7 separate regions of the Homo sapiens genome follow, and regions 2, 3, 4, 5, 6 and 7 are each linked to region 1. The links are contacts of gene promoters, found by promoter capture Hi-C in blood cells and fetal thymus (Javierre and others, 2016). All regions are on one chromosome and are shown on one strand. Each heading gives the region's core, a stretch centred on a gene start or on the middle of the fragment in contact. The rest is flanking DNA. Distances are from core to core; before and after follow the strand shown. Region 1 holds the start of FLJ13224 (a long non-coding RNA gene). Region 2 overlaps FGD4 (FYVE, RhoGEF and PH domain containing 4). Region 3 overlaps FGD4 (FYVE, RhoGEF and PH domain containing 4). Region 4 overlaps FGD4 (FYVE, RhoGEF and PH domain containing 4). Region 5 overlaps FGD4 (FYVE, RhoGEF and PH domain containing 4). Region 6 overlaps FGD4 (FYVE, RhoGEF and PH domain containing 4). Region 7 overlaps FGD4 (FYVE, RhoGEF and PH domain containing 4).

Region 1 (2,700 bases), core at 150-2,649:
TATGCCTGGGGCCACATACAAAAAAAGAAAAGGTTAGCTTGAAAAGAAAAATCTAGGAGAGGTAACCAGAAGGTCAACCACAGTTCACGGGATCTGGGAAGAAGCTAGCCGTTACCCTGTGTCATCTTCCTGAGCAGCTTCCTCCCCAGCCAGCTCCCCAGCCTCCTTACAATGTTTCCAAAAGGCCCAACTCCCTAAACATTTGCTTCTTCAAGGTCATCCTAAGGCACTGAATAACCACCAAACACTGAGTCACGCATACCTTTCGCCTAAAAAAGATCCCCCTTCCCAAAATCATTATATAAATACTTTAAATGCCATGAGGGTTTTCTCCGAAACTCCACCAGAAACAAACTCCCAGACTTTTAGATTGGGCAACTAAATGTGTTCAATTTTGCGACATAAAATTTTAAAAGGCTTTTCAAGTCTGGCAAATTCCAGTTCAAAAACAGGTGCTTTCAGCGTACTCTGAATAACAAGGTCAAATTCATTTTTAAATTATTAAAAGAAAAAGAAAAGCTTTTCTTAACCCTCCTTAGGACAACTTAAGAAGGGGGAGAAAGAATTGCTGGGGTAAAACTGTCTCGGATAGGGTCCCTGTTTAACTCAAGAGTAAATCCTAATCTTCCGAGTGCCTGAAGTAATGGAAGGTTACAGGAAGAAAATAAAAACAAAGAAACTGACTAGGGTCATAGTTACCAGAACAAACTGCACCGCCCTACCACCTCAAGAAACCAACTCCCCCTACACCAAAACAAACCTTGCCCTTCCCCGCTCCCCCCACCCCCTAGAAACACACAAAGAAACTGGCCGCACGCACAATTCGCCCACAGTCCTCACTTCCCTTAGTAGGGCAACAGGGAGCCCCGGAACTTCCCCACGGTGGTTTATCGGGCGTCGTCGGGGCTGGGTCCCCTGGACTTGCGGGCCACAGCTCGGCTGGGGAGGAGGTGCTCGCCGCCCTCACCCGTTTCTCTGAAAGCAGTAAAATGCCTCCCCGCTCCTCCCAGGGCCCTCGGGTCCCCACCTTCCGTAAATCGTGCTTCCCCCTCGGGCACTCCGGTGACTGCCGAGAGAGACGCCGAGCCAGCAAGTAAGAATGCTCCCTGGTGGATTTGTTGGTAAATAAGACATCTCGCGTCGGGAGGAAAGTTCCTGCGGGGGCCGCTCGCCGGGGCGAGGGCGAGGGCAGCGGGAGGTGAACCGCGTCGCTCGCCGCCACCTCCCTCACCTGCGCCGGAACAACGGGCCCCGCGCCAGCCCGGCCCGGCGCCTCCCGCAGGCCGCGCCTCCCGCACGCCGCGCTGCCGGGGCTTGTTCCTCCTCATGGCTTTGCCCTGACGTAATTCAAACATGGCAACAGTTCGACTTCAAAGGCGAACCCACAGACCTCCCAGACACAGGCTCCCGGGCCACGAGAAACCGGCCGAGCAGTCCGGGCCAAGCTCCCCGGAACCCTCGGCCGTCGCAACCCCCGACGCCAGGGCTGAAGCGCCGGGCACTGCCGCCTCCCTCGGTCGCCCGCCCGCACGCCCGGAGCGGGGAAGCACGCCGCCTCCCTACGCACCAGCATGGCACCTCGCACAAGTAGCGCCGCCAAAGTTTCCCCACGAGGGGGCTGAGGGACAAAAGCCCCTCCCGAAACTCGCCCGAACTTCGAGGGCCTCCGACCTGCACGGCCCTACGCCCAGGCGGCGGCCCCGAGCGCCGGGGGCCCGCACGGGCACATGCAGCCCTTTGTTTTCTGTCCAGCCGGGCGCTGCCTACGTGCAGCATCAGGGATGTCGGAGCGTTTCGCAGGGGCCGGACACTGGACGATCACCCTGGGTAGGGGTCCGGACCCCGCGCCCCGAAGAGTCCGGAGCCTGGCCCCCCGACCCTCCCCTCGGGAGCAGGCCCATTTAATCAAAGTTTTGCAGTGTCCTTGATGAGAAACGCCCGGAGTATCCGCCCCGCACGGGCGGAGAGTTGGCGACTTTCACTCTGCTTTTTAAACTGGCAAGACGCCATCATCAGCAAACCACATTGTCCTGCCGGCCGGACCTGCCCGACGGCGGCCGCATCCCACGGCTCACGCGGGGCTGGACATTCGGACAAGGACCAGGGTCGCAGCCCGAAGCACGTGGTCTGTCACGTAGAGCACAAAAAGCAGTGCCCTGCGGAGTTCACTGACTCCCGCGGCGTACACAACGCCGCCGCCTCCATCTCCAGCCAAGTTGGCTTCCCTGGCCATCTTACAGCGCGGACGGCCGCCCATAAACGGGAAGCCCTCGCGGTGTCGCCCACACCTACGCTACAGGTGAACGCACCGGGAGCAAAACTTCGGGCTCCGAAAGCACCCCGGACACCAGAGGCTCTTGGGCGCGGTCCGAAGAGGGCAGGCGAGTGGAAGACGGGCTGTTTTTAAGCGACCGCGTGTTGCTCTCATTGTCGCATCCGCATCCCTCCGGAGTTGAGCAAACAACGCCACGCCGCGTGCGCTCCGGCAGAGCCCAGCACTGACCCCCAAAGGCCGATTTAAAGACCCTCGGCCGCCAGCTCGGAAGCGGATGGCAACTTAGTTTCCGAGCGAATGGCGTTTATTGTCCACCCTAGTCCGAGGGCTGCAGTCAACTAAACCACGAGGTTTCACAACGGCGCCCGACCCTGCCCGCGCCTCGCGCCCACGCGGACGCACCGACCCCGGCCGCTGCGCGGTGG
Region 2 (2,740 bases), core at 47-2,546, 1.2 Mb after region 1:
TGTTAGATGAGTGCTTGTTGAATTCATATCTATGCAGCTCTTAACGTTTTTCTGTTGCTTCTAACCCTTCCAGTAGGGGAAACAGTTGGCACATATTCCAGCTTTGGAGAGGAAATGCTTGAAGTCTGTAGCAGGGTATAATTGCTGAATTCTTCAAGCGAATTAAAGATCTGAATTTGCTCTAGGGCATTCATAATTATTTTAATTTCCTGGAACAGATTCTAAGAATTCATTTTAAATCTGAAAGTTTTTCTTAAAATCTGTTTTATGATACACTGTCTTTATTTTTGTGAATATTGTTAGTTTCTCACAACAATATTTATTTCAGTTCATTTGGATCTAAGATCTTTGTTGTACTTATGTGTGGCCAGTAGACTCTTTAGCAAAATTAAACAAATGCTAATGGGTTCCCACAGCCACCCAAATATTAGAAGTACAGCTCCAGATTATGAGCCTGTTTCTCTTTTTCTTTTCTTCTTCTCATTATTTTAAAGAGATGGAGTCTCAGTATGTTGCTTAGGCTGGTCTCAAACTCCTGGGCTGAAGCCATTCTCCCGCCTCAGCCTTCCAAGTAGCTGGGATTACAGGCAGGAGCCACCACCCCAGACATGAACCCACTTCTAATGCAAAACACATATTGACCTGACAACAGGGCCCTCAGTTGTGGTGGAAAGAGCAGTGACCTTGGAATTAAAAGCCCTGTTGTGACTCGTGGCTTTGCCACTTTTAACCAACCCTACTTTTATTTACCTATAATGTGCAGGTATCTGTCTCACTCTTTAGGGATGCCAAAGGTGAAATGAGGTGTGCTGTCTATGTGACAGTGCCTTGTGAGCACTTTTCTGACTTCTCCCTGAGGAGGTTTGGGTCAGGCCTAGCAGAAACTGCAGCCATAGAGCATGGAGGGAAGTAGGACTTGACTAGCATAAAGTGAGTCTATGAGAGTGTGCCCACTGGTTTCCAAAGAGAATGTCGAAGAGTCTACAATGGTGAGGCCTCATCAGCCTCGATTTGAGAAGCAAATGTAGGTCAGAAATGGGGAGCAGAACAAGAGGAAAAGAAGAAGGTCAGGAGTGTGCAGAGCTGAAGAGGTGGTGAGAAGTGGTTCAAAGCTGGAAACAGGCAAGGTAATCTGGAATTCTGTCTTGATGTCTATTGAGTTATCCTAAATCAAGACTCATGTTCCTCTTACCTTATATTTCTTAAATTGATTTGTTTGATGCCCTGGGTATTTTGAAGCTCCTAGCTGCATAATCTTGCCTAATAAAGGCACAGAATTAGGGCAAATAGCTGCAGTGACTTGTGTACCTGCTCAGTGAAAGCCAAAGAATCAATAGCTAGAATCTGTGTCCACAAATTGCTTACAAACCACATGTAGATATGACATTCAACATCAGGCAAGGCTGGGCACGGTGGCTCAGATCTGTAATTCCAGCACTTTGGGAGGCCAAGGCAGGAGGATCACTAGAGTTCAGGAGTTTGAGACCAGCCTGGGCAAGATGATGAGACTCAGTCTCTACAAAAATGAAAAAAAAAATAGCTGAGTGTGGTGGCATACACCTGTAGTCCCACCTCCTTGGGAGGCTGAGGTGAGAGGATCACTTGAGCCCAGGAGTTTGAGGTTGCAGTGAGATATGGTCATGCCACTATATTCCAGCCTGTCTGCATGTAAAAACAAAAAATACACACACATACACACACACCCCAGCCTAACCACTTACCACCTCTTAATCATCTGTATAATGGACATAAAAATGCCTGCTATACTTTACATCATAGTATTCTTGAGTGGAGTAAATGAAATAATGCATATAAGGTGCTTTGCACAATGTGTGCTTGCCTCACAATAAACACTCAATATTATTAGATATGATTTCTACCATTATTACTAACAGTAGTAAGAATAGCAGTAGTATTTAAAAGCAAGTTTGCATTAGTTTTAAAGCACTATGAAATCCCAAGTCTTTTTTAAGACGGAGTCTCACTTTGTTGCCCAGGCTGGAGTGCAGTGGTGCAGTCTCTGCTCACTACAATCTCCGCCTCCCGGGTTCAAGCGATTCTCCTGCTTCAGCCTCCTGAGTAGCTCTGATTATAGGTACCCGCCACCACACCCAGCTAATTTTTATTTTTTAGTAGAGACGGGGTTTTACCATGTTGGCCAGACTGGTCTCAAACTGCTGACCTCAAGTGATCCACCTGCCTCGGCCTCCCAAAGTGCTAGGATTACAGGGATGAGCCACTGCACCCGGCCTCAAGTTATGATTGTTAATATTTTTGTGACATTCAGGATAAATATTTTTTAGTATGCTACTGAAGGACATGTCTCAGCATCGGTGTATCCCTTCCTGAAGCTATATGTTACCTTGCATTTACAGAGTTGACTTGGTGTCCAGAGAACAAATCAGTTGAGAAAAGGCCATTTTGAAAACGATTTTTTCCAGGGAGCATACGCTAGTACCCTGTTGCGGCATCCATGTGTGAGGGGGTGGTTGGATTATAGATCTTCAATGTGAAGTCAAGTTTCTTATCAAATGAAGTGTTTTGTCCGATCTTAGAGTTTAAACCCACAAGGAGGTAACAAAGCAAAGGGCTAATATATCTTTTCGCTACTTAGAACTACAGGCCAGAAATTTGCTTTTGTATTCTGAGATCTTATGATACTTGTCTCAATGAAATAAAACTGCATGCATTATTCTGCATTTCCATATTACTATTCTCTGTATTGGTAATTATTATGATA
Region 3 (2,905 bases), core at 219-2,718, 1.3 Mb after region 1:
TCAATATTTTAAGCTTAAATTTTGCTTTTGCTGAAAGCCTACCATTTGGCGTGTTAAGTATGAAATATAGTGCAGACTTTTATCTTGGTTTTAAGTGGGGCTCAATAAAAAACACCAGCCACTTTTGTAATAATGGCATCACAGTGTCATCATGTATGCAAGCAATAAAACTCTTTAGGGTATGGTTTTATACTGAAAATTTAATATGAAGGCCCCTTCCCACAAGAATATAGATAATTATTAACTTTCTAGATGTGATACGGTAATTCGAATTGCAGAGTATAAGGAAGGGAAATGGGAAGGGGCATCATTCCTTGGATTTTAAATAACTATCAAGAACATTTTTACTTTAACAAAGAAAATGGATAGAAAAAGCACATTTTGTTTTCCCTGAAGTTTAATTTGACATCAGGTTTGTGTACTTATCTTCACTAGGTGACTTAACTTACCCCAATTTTTTTAAAAATTATTAAACTTTTTACAGAAACTAACCTTTTAAATGTACCCTTTCCCCATATATATATACGCACACGTTTGGATTTTTTTTTTTTAAGAACACTTGTTCTAGTTATAAATATATAAAGAAAACGATAAAGTTTGTGGTACTGCAGGGTTGTTAAAGATTCTTTGATGCCTTCTAAAAACTTTTGTCAAAAATACTTTTGAGTTCACAATTCTGTTTTACTTTTCCTTGTCCTTACTTTTTGGAAACAGGGTGGTTGCTTTTATTTGTTTTCTGGTTATATTCAAAGCCTTAAGTTCTTAATCTGAGCATATTGTCTGTGATAAATTTCTGATGATCTTTCTGGACTAGATACAACCTGAGTAGCAAGCACCAACCGGAGCAAGTAAACTTCTAGGGAACAAGCGTCTTGGGTTTTATAGGTATCTTTGCTATAATGCAGAATAGATTAATGAAGATTTCCTATATCATATGATATTTGTGTTAGTGGGTCTAAGATTAAGCACATGATATTTATAAGCTAAAATTAACTCAAAAGTCAAGAATGTCTTAATGTTTTCATTCTTAAATTTTGTATTCTCCAAGAATGTATTAGTATATGAACTGTGGCCAACCAGTTCCTATTCTTCAGACTGTATTGACATCTGTAGTGGATCATGTTGCTTCTTCATTCTTACCAATTTTATTAGAATCAAACTTCTTGTTATTTGCATACTATTATCTACTATAGATTCTCAGCTTTAGAAAATGACTATGATACATAAAGACCACTAGGTCAACTTAAAAAACCCTTTCTGTGAATTTATACATGTATGTATATATGTAAAAACACTGTTGATTTGCAATTCTGTCTTTCCATAGAAATGAACTTTTTCTATCGAAATTGTTTAACTTAAATATTTTAACATAAATTATTTACATGGATCTTTATGTATAATTCATCCTTATATATACCCCTTAATCACGTAGTCATGAGAAGATAACTTTGCTTTCTTTACAGAAAGGGCAGAGAGGAATAAGATAAGAAACTGAAACAAGCAAGAATGAAGAGAGATGTGGGGGAGAGACTGCTGGTCTCCAGACCACAGCAATGTGTTTTAAGATAAGATGAAATATTTTAACTGCAGAAGGGATATAAAATCTATGTAATTACATGCTGATGGGATCCATTGCACCCAGGTTTTTGACCTTGGCCTGTAAATGCTAGACTATGATATCTTGTTATTCTTTTTCTCCTTTGGGCTTTTAAAAAATAATTTCATTCTCAGATCATTTTCTGTACTGTTTACTGAGGCAAAAAAAAAAAAAATCTGAAGTCAATCATGGTCTTCTACTTTCTGGACTGAGCATTTGGCAGAATGCAGTATCTTTTCCTGTATTTTGACATGAAATAGCACATGGCTTCTACAAGATAGTTTTAACTTGTTGGGGTCACCGGGAGTTATATGATGGTCAACCCCTTTTCCCAAAATTCATTGTGGTAGTTTTAGTGGAAAACGTAAATCAAGAAATCTCATATCATACTTTAATAAATAAATACCAAATACATAGTGACATATAGGTTTGGGAAGAAACTAGTCTGTGGGGACCATTATAAGAGAATCACATTATATATTACACAGTATATGGATATTGGAATGTATCACTTGTGGGGGGTTCTCTTCATTAGCAAAACAGTCATGTCTGTCTGTATATAAGACTTTTTTTTTTTTAACCAAACTAGCATTTCATTTTGTGAGTGACAATTGACATTTTAAAATAAGCATAGGCCGGGCATAGTGGCTCATGCCTGTAATCCCAGCCCTTGGGAGGCCGAGGTGGGCAGATCACTTCAGGTCAGGAGTTTGAGACCAGCCTGGCCAACATGGTGAAACCCTGTCTCTACTAAATAAAAATAAAACAAAATAAGTGTATCTGGGCCAGGCACGGTAGCCCATGCCTGTAATCCCAGCACTTTGGGAGGCCGAGGAGTTCGAGACCAGCCTGGCCAACATGGCAAAACCCTGTCTCTACAAAAATTAGCCAGGTGTGGTGGCACATGCCTGTAATCCCAGCTACTCGGGAGGTTGAGGCAGGAGAATTGCTTGAACCCGGGAGACAGAGGTTGCAGTGAGCCGAGATTGCACCACTGCACTCCGGCCTGGGTGACAGAGCAAGACTTCGACTCAAAAAATAAAATAAGCGTATCTGGATTTTTCTTTTGAATTCTTGACTGATAAGTTTGAGAATGTATGTTTTTGGAATTTTACAGTTGACTCAAGTGTGAAAGTATACACAAGTAATTTTTCTTTTCTAGCTATGTGAATGTAAAATACTTGCAGATAATGTATATATTGTGTAATATATGTATATTTGGTCATAAAAGCAGATAATTGGAAACATTGTAAAATTAAGCACTTTAATTCCTATTAAATATTAAACATTTGTATCTTGTAAATAAAC
Region 4 (2,702 bases), core at 29-2,528, 1.2 Mb after region 1:
AAATGTCCTCACCTACTCTCAAAGTGCTTTAAGGTAACATACAATTTTTAGTTTGCTATTCCATATAACATAGAAACATAATAATTTTAAGAAGTGATGTTACAAAGTTGAGCTGAGTCTAGGTATTATGGTTTGATTCTGACTACAACATCTGACTATCACATGAAAAGGGACATTTGTGTTATGTAAATGTTGAATTTACATCATGATTAATGTTTAGGTGTTTTAAAACATCTGTTATGTGATAAATTAACTAAAATACCCCTTTTTAGGCTGGGTGCAGTCACTCATGCCTGTAATCCCAGCATTTTCGGAGGCCGAGGTGGGTGGATTACCTGAGGTCAGGAGTTCAAGACCAGCCTGGCCAACATGGTGAAACCCCACCTCTACTAAAAATACAAAAATTAGCCAGACGTGCTGGTGGGCACCTGTAATCCAAGCTACTTGGGAGGCTGAGGCAGGAGAATAGCTTGAACCTGGGAGGCAGAGGTTGCAGTGAGCCAAGATCACACCACTACACTCCAGCCAGGGTGACAGAGGGATACTCTGTCTCAGAAAAAAAACAAAATAAAAATAAAAAATCCCATCTTATTTTTTAAGAAATGGCGCCTCACTCTGTCGCCCAGACTGAGGTATGGTGGTATGATAGTAGCTCACTATGTAACGTCAACCTTCTATGCTCAAGTGATCCTCCTGCCTCAGCCTGTTGAGTAGCTGGGATGACAGGCACATGCCATAACACCCAGCTAATTTTTTAAAATTTATTTTTGTAGAGATGGGGTCTCACCATGTTGCCTAGGTTGGTCTCTAATTTCTGGCCTCAAACATAAAACATTCATTTTAATCCATAATTTTACTTTATAGGCATAACAAGGATGAGAAATTTGCCTATCAATCAGTGCCTTCCTCTTTTAAAAACCTGACTTGTTTTTATATAGAAATTACTTGGGATTGCTAGGTAACCCGCATAACCATTCCTGGAAAAAAATGGAAGGCCCTTTTTTGCTTTTGGGAATATGGAGAGCTTATACACAGTTTCACTATTCAGCATTGCTTGCAGTATTTCTTACAATTTTCTGATGTCTGTCAAAAAGAATCCTCAGATCTTTTAAGACCAATTTTTTTTTTTTTTTTTTTTTTGAGACAGAGACTCGCCCTGTTGCCCAGGCTGGAGTGCAGTGGCGGGATCTGGGCTCACTGCAAGCTCCGCCTCCCAGGTTCACGCTATTCTCTTGCCTCAGCCTCCCGAGCAGCTGGGACTACAGGCGCCTGCCACCACGCCTGGCTAATTTTTTTTTTGTATTTTCAGTAGAGACGAGGTTTCACCATGTTAGCCAGGATGGTCTCGATTTCTTGACCTCGTGACCCACCCGCCTAGGCCTCCCAGAGTGCTGGGATTACAAGTGTGAGCCACTGCGCCTGACCAAGACCTATTTTTAAAGGGAAGTTTGTTATAAGCCTAAATGCCATAAATGTAATAAAGTTACATGTATTTGGCATCATACTTCCTAGTCCACCCCCGGTATTCTAGAGCTCTCTCAGTACATTTTGAAACACCTTCGTGGAATTTTGAAATGCGTTGCTTGCGTAGTTCCTTGAGCCTGCATCACTGCCAGAAGAAGACTTATGAAACAGAACTCTGTACTTCCCATTAGTTAGTTCTTTATCATGTTGAACACTAGATGTGTATGTGTCTAGTGTCTAAATACAGAATGCCTATAGTTTCTACCAACAAATTATGGATCCAAATCCTTGCTCCAGAAGCAGGAAATAGGTTAATCAGAAGATTGCTGGATGTTATGAAAAGAATCTTTTATGGGGGGCTGTGAGTATTGTTTTGCAATTGCCATTTCTGAAATATCTCAGGTTAAAACATTTGGATTTTTTCACTATGCAAAGTATACAATAGATGAGGTCACTGGTATTTCTCTTTGTTTACTGTTAAGTGATAATAATTTGTACCACGATGGAAAAATTATCGTGGATTTTCTTTAGAGTAGTTCAGTGCTGTGGTTTTAGCACAAAGGTGTGCTTTTTCTTATCTTCATGATCCAGGAACAATTACTTGAGGGAATGGCATTTCTCCCTGTGAGTTCATAGCACAGAGTGTTTCCTGAGAGTAGTGGAAGTGAGTAAGTGCAACCACTGTTGACCCTTGTCATCTCAGTCTTTTTTATTATAACCTCTTTCCTTCTACTTTTTTCACTTGTCTTCTTTCTATTTCTAATATTTAAGATTTACACTTTAGCCAGTTTCTTAAAACTTATTTGTGCACCTAATATTTTCTTGGTCATCAATTATTTGGGGATAAAAATTCCCCCTACTTCTAAAACATGAGCAAGGTACATTGGTAATTCTCAGGTTTAAGGATTTCTTGAAATAACATTATCTGATTTATTGGGATCTGAAGTATAGTTGACTTGACTAGGTACTTCTATCATTGTGGCTTAAGTGATCTTGTAGTCTTTTATATTTAACTGAAAAATCATTTTAGGTTGATGTTTTTGTTCAGAGAAACATTTTAAATTTTAAACCAATATTTTTGTTCAGTAGGAAGGAGAAAAAAATAAACATCCAAGTATAAGCTACTGTAACATTTTGAGGTGTTTTTCCTCTTTGTAGCTATTGTTTTGTGAAACTGAGGCTATACTGTTTATGGATTTTGAATTATACTTCTCCCTCTGACCCCCACCATGTATCAT
Region 5 (3,049 bases), core at 174-2,673, 1.3 Mb after region 1:
CCTGAGCTCAAGTGATCCACCCGCCTCAGCCTCCCAAAGTGCTGACAGGTGTGAGCCACTGTGCCTGGCCAGACACATCACTTTAACAAACTCTCCAGGCCATGGCTTCCTGACATGTTGAAATCATTGAGATGACAGGAAGGAAAGTAATGGTGTGGGTTTGAGAGAAGGAAGTAGAGTTGCTAATTAGGTTAGTTTTGTACTCTTATACTAAGTTTATGGTTCCTGCAAAACATCCATTTGGAGATATTAATTAAGCAAGTGGAACTGTGGATCCAGAGCCCAGGAAAGAGGGTAAGAATGTTAAGAGGATGGTGCATGAGGGTGTGATTAACATTGCCAAAGCAGAATGTGTAGGAACAGGAAATGGGCCAAGAGTTGAGCCATGAAGCACAAACAATAGAAAAGGATGTTTAATAAATTGTCCAAGAGGAGAAAGAAGAGAGAACAGTGTTTTGGAACCACAGGGATGGAGGGGAATGGGGTAGGGGTGCAGGCATATTGGAAAGCTTTAAGGAAAAAAGCATGGTCAGCATTTAGAATATGGAACTAGGAGTTAACTTGGAGACCTAGCCTTTAGTAGGCCTTGATAGCTAACTAGCTGTATACTAGTATATAACTTGGTGAACTTGAGTAATTGAACAAAGTTGAGCAAATGTATATTGCACATAGGCTATGGGCAAGGCACCGCAGTAAATACAAAGAAGAAACTTACAGTTGAGATGGAGAGTTAAGACAACAAATGACCATTACTCAAGATATCCTGAAGTAAAGGGAAAAGGCCTCACTGATAAAGCTAAGGTTTACATCATGGCTATTAGTGTGAATTCACTGTTGTTAGCAGAAACGGAGAAGTCATGGAGAATCTAGGACGGACTGAGGGACCACAGCACGGAGGTAGCTTGCAGGCTTGGTGATTGAAGTGTCGATTTGGGCAGTCCTCTGCCAAGACCAGCAAGAAGTCCTCCAGGTGCAAGACTTGGAGCTTGGAGAAGGTGCTGTTGTGGCAACAGTGACCATGATTCTGAGAGCATCGGGCAAAGACTATAGAGCCAATCAGAAGTCTTCCCAGCATTGCTGAGTGGCCTGGAATTCAAGAAAGAGAAAAAGCAAACTTGGAGTGGGAATTAGCCAGGATCAGCAAGTCAGCAGTGCCAAGAGAACAAAGGATGGGGTTTAACAGAACGTTGAGTTGAACCAGGAGAATTGGGAAAGATCAGGTGCTTAGAGGTCACAGCGTGTAGAAAGACCCAGTTTAGTTGAGTGTGAGAGAAATGGAAAGCTAAAATCTTGCTTTATATGGGGTTAAAAACAAATTAAAAAGCCAGATACCTAACCTAGTGGTCAGGAACACAGACTCAAGAGCCAGGTCCTCTAGATTTGAATCCCACTCAGCTACTTACTAGCTCTGTGACCTTGAGCAGATTACTTCAACCTCCCTGTGCCTCAGTTTCCTCATCTGTAAAATGGAGATAACATATCTACCTTGTAACATTATGAGGTATAGATCATGTACTAGTTGTAAAGTACTTTAGAACAGTGCCTTGGCATATAAAAGCTATGTGTTTATTAATTAAACATCCTGTTTCCTCACTTGTGAATCAAGATCAATAGACTCAAAGCCTAATATGTCATTTAATAGATCCAAATTTCAACACATTCTGCCAGGTTAATACCAGCACCTCTCTTTCGGTTCTCCCACTGTAGGATACACAGAGAAGTTTGCATACCACCTCTTTTTTAACTTAGGGTTCCTGTATTTTGTTTCTCCTGCCTGAGGACTGTTGGTTATTACCACATGATGTACTCTCATTAGTGTATACAAGGTTCTGACTTAACAGAATTAACATAAAGCGTTTATAAATGACTGAGATACTTTGATGACTAAGTCTTTAGACAGGTTAATTCAGTTATTTAATGTGTATACATATTCAGTTTTTCTTGGTGCCTGTTCTTTAATTTCTATAAAACTCAAAGGACTCTTTAGTGTAACTTACACTACATAGATTATAAGAAGACCAAAGTTGTTCTCTCTTCACCACCACTTACTTCCTGTCTGATCTTGTGCAAGTAACCAAACTTTTTTTCTTTGTGCAACCTCTGTTTCCCCCTCCTCCCCATGTCACGAAAGAACGTAATTGAAACCTTCAGATTAAAAGCTCTCACTTTTAACTCTCCTTGAACCCAGGAGGCAGAGGTTGCAGTGAGCTGAGATTGTGCCATTAACTCTCACTCATTGTTCTCCCCTCTTATTTCAAGTTTTGAATTGGATAGTGTGGAAGACCTAAGTTTGGGAAAATATTGGTGGTAAGTCACAAGTAGGCCTGGACTACTTCTTGAAGCTTCTTGAAGGATCATGCCGAGCTGACAGCCTGTTGATGCTTATGACACTATATTATAAAGCAAGGAATGCCGGGCGCGGTGGCTTATGCCTGAAATCCCAGCACTTTGGGAGGCCGAGACAGGTGGATCACCTGAGGTCAGGAGTTCTAGACCAGCCTGGCCAACATGGTGAAACCTCGTCTCTACTAAAAATACAAAAATTAGCTGGGTATGGTGGCAGGCGCCTATAATCCCAGCTACTCAGTGGGTGCTGAGGCAGGAGAATCACTTGAACCCGAGAGGCAGAGTTTGCAGTGAGCCGAGATCGCGCCATCGCACTCCAGCCTGGGGGACAAGAGTGAGACTTCATCTAAAAAAAAAAAAAAAAAAAAAGCAAGGAATGATATATGCATATCATAAGTGGGTGTTCTCTCTCTCTCTCTCTTTTTAATAATGTGAGCCTAGTGATAAATTCCCTACTGTTAACAAATAGTTCTTGAGACCTCATGACCCTTTTGATGGCATTTATGACATGATCTTATTTGACCATGAAACCTGTGTTTTATTCCTCTACCTCCTGGTTTTCTTGTTCCCCAAATCCAGAGGGATTTCTCCTCATGCAAAAGGCTGTAGCAGAGCACAAGTTGGTTTTCACAGACCCGGGTTTGAATCCTGGCTCATTCGCTTACTAGCTGTATGACTTTGGGCAAGTTACTTAACCTCATGA
Region 6 (2,825 bases), core at 94-2,593, 1.1 Mb after region 1:
TGAAACATACAAACAAAAATGCTGTCCCTCCCTTCAGTACACCGTGTCTGATTTGTTCACTTGAGTCCTTAGCATCTACTACAGTGCTTCACACATAGCAGGCACTCAAATATTTGTTGGTTGAAATATATGTAAGAGAGAAGTACACCTATTTTTTCTGTGGTCATTATTAGAGGCAGAAGGTGTATATTTTCACTGTTTGTTTTTGTGTCTGTGTTGGGGAAGGAACAAACCCTAAAACCTTTACCCATTACAGAAGGAAAGAACATTGGTACAAGACGAACTGTTCAGCAAGAATAGATTTGAATGTCTGATCTGTCCCCAAGTCTTCAGATGCTGCAGATGTTAACCATGGCCTCTTGGATGCCCTCACTTGCTCATTCATTCACTTTGATTGATTCATAAGATGAGCTTGAGTTCATGCCAGCAAGTAAGCCATGATCTTAGAGGGAAAATGACTGGAAGCAGATCACAGTGCAATATGGTGTTAGAGGTATTAGGATGGATAGATGTAGAAAGTACAGTGGGAGTACAAAGAAGGGAAGGGAGCCATCATTTTTGTCTGAGCAAATGGAGCAGAGTCATATGGACTCATAGAAAAAGGGGTGCTTGGCTGGGCGCGGGTAGCTCACCCCTGTAATCCTAGCACTTTGGGAGGCTGAGGCGAGTGGATCACCTGAGGTCAGGAGTTCGAGAGCAGCCTGACCAACATGGTGAAACCCTGTGTCTACTAAAAATACAAAATTAGCCAGGTGCGGTGGCACATGCCTGTAATCCCAGCTACTTGGGAGGCTAAGGCAGGAGAATTGCTTGAACCCAGGAAGCAGAGGTTGCAGTGAGCTGAGATCGCGCCACGGCACTCCAGCCTGGGCAACAAATAATGAAACTCCATCGCAAAAAAAAAAAAAAGAAAAAGGGGTGATTGAGCTTGGACTTGAGGTAGGAATGTGTGTTTAGCAGGGGGAAGGAAAGAAGATAGAAGGGAAGCAGTCCGGTAACACAGGAGCAGCCTCATCACTTCCTGTAGGCTGCAGTATAGGAGAGGATGTGTGGGAGGGAGTGCAAGGTAAAACTGGGGAAAACCAGAAACCATGAGACAGCTCCTGAGACAGATTAGACTGTTTCCAAAGTGTGGTTAGAACATGAATACATTAAATAATAAATAAAACCTTCGTTCCACTAAGTGAACTAAATGTTGTATTTTTATGTAACTTAATCATCTTCATAATGCTCTTGGAGAGATAGACAGTATTAACATTTATAGACTGAGAAACTGAGATATCAAAGTCAGGTAATTACACGAGATGTGGTTCCTATATATTATTTTTTAATTTCAAAAACTATCTCAAATATACAGAAATTTTTTTTTCCTAATTGATTTAATAGTAAGTTACCCACTGCCCCATCATTTCTGTATATTTAGTGCCTTTGTTTTTTTGTCTTAACAAACAAGGACATGCACCTACATAGCTGTAATATAGCTATCAAAACCAGGAAGTTAACATTGATCCATTATTACCATGTAATTCCCAGATCCCATTTAAAGTTTCACCAGTTGCACCAATAATGCCCTTCATGGCAAAAGGATCAATTTCAGGATTACCCATTGCTTTTAGTATCCTGTCTATTTAGGTTCCTATAGCCTGGGACAGATCCTTAGTCTTTCCTTGACTTTTATGACCCAGAGGTGAAAGGCCAAATGTTTTGTAGAATGTCCTTAAACTTGGGTTTATCTGAGGTTTCCTTGTGATTGAATTCAGGTTAGACATCTTTGATGGGACTGTCATAGAACTGATGCTGTGTTCTAATTGCATCTTATCAGGTGACTTATGATTTCTGTTTGTCCCATTATTGATGCTGTTACTTTGATCACTTGATTAAGGTGGTGTCTGCCTGGCTTCTCCAGTGTGAAATTTCTTTTCTTCTTTGTAATATTTTGTGGGGAAGTAACTTTAAGACTATGTAACTGTTTCATTTCTTTTCTTTTCTTTTGAGACAGGGTCTGGCTCTGTTGCCCAGCCTAAAGTGCAGTGGTGCAATCACACCTTACTTCCTGCCTTGACCTCCCGGGCTCAAGGGATCTTCTCACTTTAGTCTCCCAAGTAGCTGGTTCCACAGGCATGTACCACTATGCCCAGCTAATTTATTTTTATTTATTTTTTTTTATTTTATTTATTTTATTTTTTTGAGATGGAGTCTTGCTCCGTCACCCAGGCTGGAGTGCAATGGTGCGATCTCAGCTCACTGCAACCTCCGTCTCCCTGGTTCAAGCGATTCTTTTGCCTCAGCCTCCCAAGTAGCTGGGATTACAGGCACGTGCTACCATGCCTGGCTAATTTTTGTATTTTTAGTAGTGACGGGGTTTCACCATATTGGCCAGGCTGGTCTCGATCTCCTGACCTCGTGATCTGCCTGCCTCAGCCTCCCAAACTGCTGGGATTACAGGCATGAGCCACTGCACCTGGCCTATTTTTATTTTTTAAATTTTTGTGGAGACAGTGTCTTGCCATGTTGCCCAGGCTGGTCTTGAACTCTCGGATTTAGGAGATCCTCCTGCCTTAGCCTTCCAAAGTGCTGGGATTACAGGTATGAGCCACCATGCCAGGCCACCTATTTTTTTTATCACACTTTAAGTTTATTCATTTATATCAGTGTGTAGTCACCATTTCCTAATAAATTATAATCTTTTACTTCCCTTTCAAGCTGGCTTCTGTTCTCTTTTGACAAGTTCTTATAATTCTTTGAGCATGTCTAGCTGACACAAGATGTTCTAGGCTCATCTTGTTCTTCCCTACCCTGTTACTAGAATCAGCGATTTCTCCAAG
Region 7 (2,700 bases), core at 153-2,652, 1.2 Mb after region 1:
TTGGGAGGCTGAGTCAGGAGGATCACTTGAGGCCAGGAGTTTGAGACCAGCCTGGGCAACACAGCAAGACCTTGCCTCTGCTTAAAAATAAAATAAAATAAAAAAATAAAGCTGGGCACGGTGGCTCACTCTTGTAATCCGAGCACTTTGGGAGGCCAAGGCAGGCAGATCACTTGAGGTCAGGAGTTCGAGACCAGCCTAGCCAAGATGGTGAAACCCCGTTTCTACTAAAAAAGAAAAAAATACAAAAAGTAGCTGGGCGTGGTGGTGTGCACTTGTAGTCCCATCTACTTGGGAGGCTGAAGCAGGAGAATCACTTGAACCCAGGAGGCAGAGGCTACAGTGAGCTGAGATCATGCCACTGCACTCCAGTCTGGGTGACAGAGCAAGACTCCATCTCAAAATAAAATAAAATAAAAAATCTTTGAATAGTTTTAGTATGTTTTAGAGTAAGTTTTGAAAAATAATGTAATATCTTCTGAGATATTACTATAGATGGAAATTTGCCAGAATAATTTTGAGAAAAACCTTTGTATAACTGGTAGATGGTATTTAAAAATAGGTATTGTGACTTAGTAAGTGCATCCAGTGATAGACTTCTTCCCTTTAGGACGATGAATCTCTCTTCATGGCAGTCATTGAAACTAAGTATGGAAGTAAACTGAGATAGATTTACTCTTCCAAATTGCTGTATTGTGAAATATTTTACAATTTCTTTTTAAATAAACGAATACAAGAGCTTTAAAGAGATTTTAAATGTTTTTGAGTTTTAGCATTTACCTTAAAAGATTTTTTAAAAACAAGCAGATTCAGTCACATTGTTCTCTTAACAATAGTATTTTTACCTCTACCTTGCCCTATTTTAAGTTCTATTGTGGGTTTTTTTGTTTTTTGTTTTTTTTTTTTAGAGATGGAGTCTCGCTCTGTCGCCCAGGCTGGAGTGCAGTGGTGCAATCTTGGCTCACTGCAAGCTCTGCTTCCCGGTTTCACGCCATTCTCCTCCCTCAGCCTCCTGAGTAGCTGGGATGACAGGTGCCCACCACCACGCCTGGCTAATTTTTTTGTATTTTTAGTAGAGATAGGGTTTCACCGTGTTAGCCAGGATGGTCTCGATCTCCTGACCTCGTGATCCACCCGCCTCGGCCTCCCAAAGTGCTGGGATTACAGGCATGAGCCACCGCGCCTGGCCTATTTTTGTGTTTTAAAGTGTGTATCTTAATACAGGAATGCTTGTATCTAACTCTTACCTACATTGTGTGCGAATATGCATACTAGGGGATGCATGCCCAGGATTTATTCTGATAGGGATGTGCCCTCAAGAAGTTTAGAGATAAAGTATTCTAGAAAGCCTTCTCTTACCCTCCGCTCTGTACCTCCAGCAGTCACAGAGCCTCAGCCAAACTTGTCAATTACTATTTTACTTGTTTGCTCTCCCTTTGGTTCCTCGAGAAGGAACTATTTAATGAGACTGTATAAAGTGTTTGAAAACAATGTGCATGGGAGCCATAATAATGAACAGGACAGACAGGGTCCCTGTCCTCTAGAAAAAAGGACATTGCAGGCTGGGCGCGGTGGTTCACACCTGTAATCCCAGCACTTTGGGAGTCCGAGGCGGGTGGATCACGAGGTCAGGAGATCGAGACCATCCTGGCCAACGTGGCAAAACCCTGTCTCTACTAAAAATACAAAAATTAGCTGGCATGCCTCTAATTCCAGCTACTCGGGAGGCTGAGGCAGGAGAATTGCTTGAACCAGGGAATCGGAGGTTACAGTGAGCCAAGATCGCACCACTGCACTCCAGCCTGGCGACGGCGAGACTCCGTCTCAAAAAAAAAAAAAAAAAAGGACATTGCATGAATATTTAATTACGTTTGTGAAGAAATGTTCAAAGGAAACAACCCACAGGGAATAATTAGACTTAGTCATATGTAGAGACCTTAACGTCACAGGAACTGAAAAAGCTGGTGTGGCTGAACTGATGGGCAGGACTTTATAAAAAACATTCCCAAGTCCCTAACAATGTGTCCTGTATACTATATTGAGTCCCATATGGGGCTCAGTAATTCTTTGTAAATAAACAAATACAACATCTTTAGAAGGGATTTTAAATGTTTTTGAGTTTTAGCATTTACTTTAAAAAATATTGTTTTCTAGTTTGCCATAGGTTACTCTAATTTCTGCTGTTTTAAACTCGAATCCTTACCCATTTGTGGCAAATAACATTTGCCTCTGCTATCCTGTGCAGAGGATGAAGATAAGCCATACTCCATGAACAGTGAACTGTTTACTAATACGAGATTATTTAAGTTCCACTACTGATGAACTGTTGTGTCTTAAAGGCTATATAGGTATTTTATAATCCTTAGCATAGTACCGAAGACCTGTTTGTTTCAACATGATTACTAAAGTTGACAATATATAGATTGCCAAAATAATAATTAGAAAATTCCAAGCAAATAAATTTATAATTTATTTAGTACCCATTTAAACGTGCATATGATGGAAATGAGCTGTTTTTTAAAAAATTAGTTCCCTTTTTATCTTTGACCTTATTTCCTACCACAAATTCAGTAACTTACAAAGATATTTAAAAGCTGACTAAATTTGCATCTACTAATATTCTTTTTTCTTTGGAATATTATTACTGTAATATACTTCTGAGATTGTATTAAAAAAGAAACTGCATGTGTAAGATTATCA

Evidence for each region. Contacts are between HindIII fragments. The CHiCAGO score rates a contact against its expected background, and 5 or more counts as called.
Region 2: a fragment that was not itself captured here is called in contact with the fragment with the promoter of FLJ13224 in region 1 in 1 of 17 cell types (neutrophils); the score reaches 5.5 in neutrophils.
Region 3: a contact is called between a fragment that was not itself captured here and the fragment with the promoter of FLJ13224 in region 1, in 1 of 17 cell types (M2 macrophages). The highest score is 5.1, in M2 macrophages.
Region 4: a fragment that was not itself captured here is called in contact with the fragment with the promoter of FLJ13224 in region 1 in 1 of 17 cell types (monocytes); the score reaches 6.4 in monocytes.
Region 5: a fragment that was not itself captured here is called in contact with the fragment with the promoter of FLJ13224 in region 1 in 1 of 17 cell types (monocytes); the score reaches 6.9 in monocytes.
Region 6: a contact is called between a fragment that was not itself captured here and the fragment with the promoter of FLJ13224 in region 1, in 1 of 17 cell types (monocytes). The highest score is 5.6, in monocytes.
Region 7: a fragment that was not itself captured here is called in contact with the fragment with the promoter of FLJ13224 in region 1 in 1 of 17 cell types (monocytes); the score reaches 5.1 in monocytes.

The regions. Positions count from the first base shown.
Region 1 is chr12:31,322,917-31,325,616 of GRCh38, forward strand. FLJ13224 (a long non-coding RNA gene) reads left to right here and starts at 1,400. Exons shown (of 1, transcript NR_026806.1): 1 at 1,400-2,700. All of the region lies in intron 1 of SINHCAF (SIN3-HDAC complex associated factor), which reads right to left. RefSeq lists an enhancer at 2,323-2,700. The HindIII fragment of the contact is 3,270 bases long and covers 518-2,700 here.
Region 2 is chr12:32,545,755-32,548,494 of GRCh38, forward strand. The region is part of intron 1 of FGD4 (FYVE, RhoGEF and PH domain containing 4); the gene reads left to right. Among named protein-coding and RNA genes, the nearest start is that of DNM1L, 130 kb to the right of the region's middle. The HindIII fragment of the contact is 4,271 bases long and covers 1-2,740 here.
Region 3 is chr12:32,643,131-32,646,035 of GRCh38, forward strand. FGD4 (FYVE, RhoGEF and PH domain containing 4) reads left to right here. Exons shown (of 17, transcript NM_001370298.3): 17 at 1-2,905. Among named protein-coding and RNA genes, the nearest start is that of DNM1L, 35 kb to the right of the region's middle. The HindIII fragment of the contact is 2,915 bases long and covers 12-2,905 here.
Region 4 is chr12:32,484,319-32,487,020 of GRCh38, forward strand. The region is part of intron 1 of FGD4 (FYVE, RhoGEF and PH domain containing 4); the gene reads left to right. Among named protein-coding and RNA genes, the nearest start is that of FGD4, 86 kb to the left of the region's middle. The HindIII fragment of the contact is 5,006 bases long and covers 1-2,702 here.
Region 5 is chr12:32,587,616-32,590,664 of GRCh38, forward strand. All of the region lies in intron 4 of FGD4 (FYVE, RhoGEF and PH domain containing 4), which reads left to right. Among named protein-coding and RNA genes, the nearest start is that of DNM1L, 90 kb to the right of the region's middle. The HindIII fragment of the contact is 1,833 bases long and covers 508-2,340 here.
Region 6 is chr12:32,447,764-32,450,588 of GRCh38, forward strand. The region is part of intron 1 of FGD4 (FYVE, RhoGEF and PH domain containing 4); the gene reads left to right. Among named protein-coding and RNA genes, the nearest start is that of FGD4, 50 kb to the left of the region's middle. The HindIII fragment of the contact is 3,961 bases long and covers 1-2,825 here.
Region 7 is chr12:32,519,547-32,522,246 of GRCh38, forward strand. The region is part of intron 1 of FGD4 (FYVE, RhoGEF and PH domain containing 4); the gene reads left to right. Among named protein-coding and RNA genes, the nearest start is that of FGD4, 120 kb to the left of the region's middle. The HindIII fragment of the contact is 7,816 bases long and covers 1-2,700 here.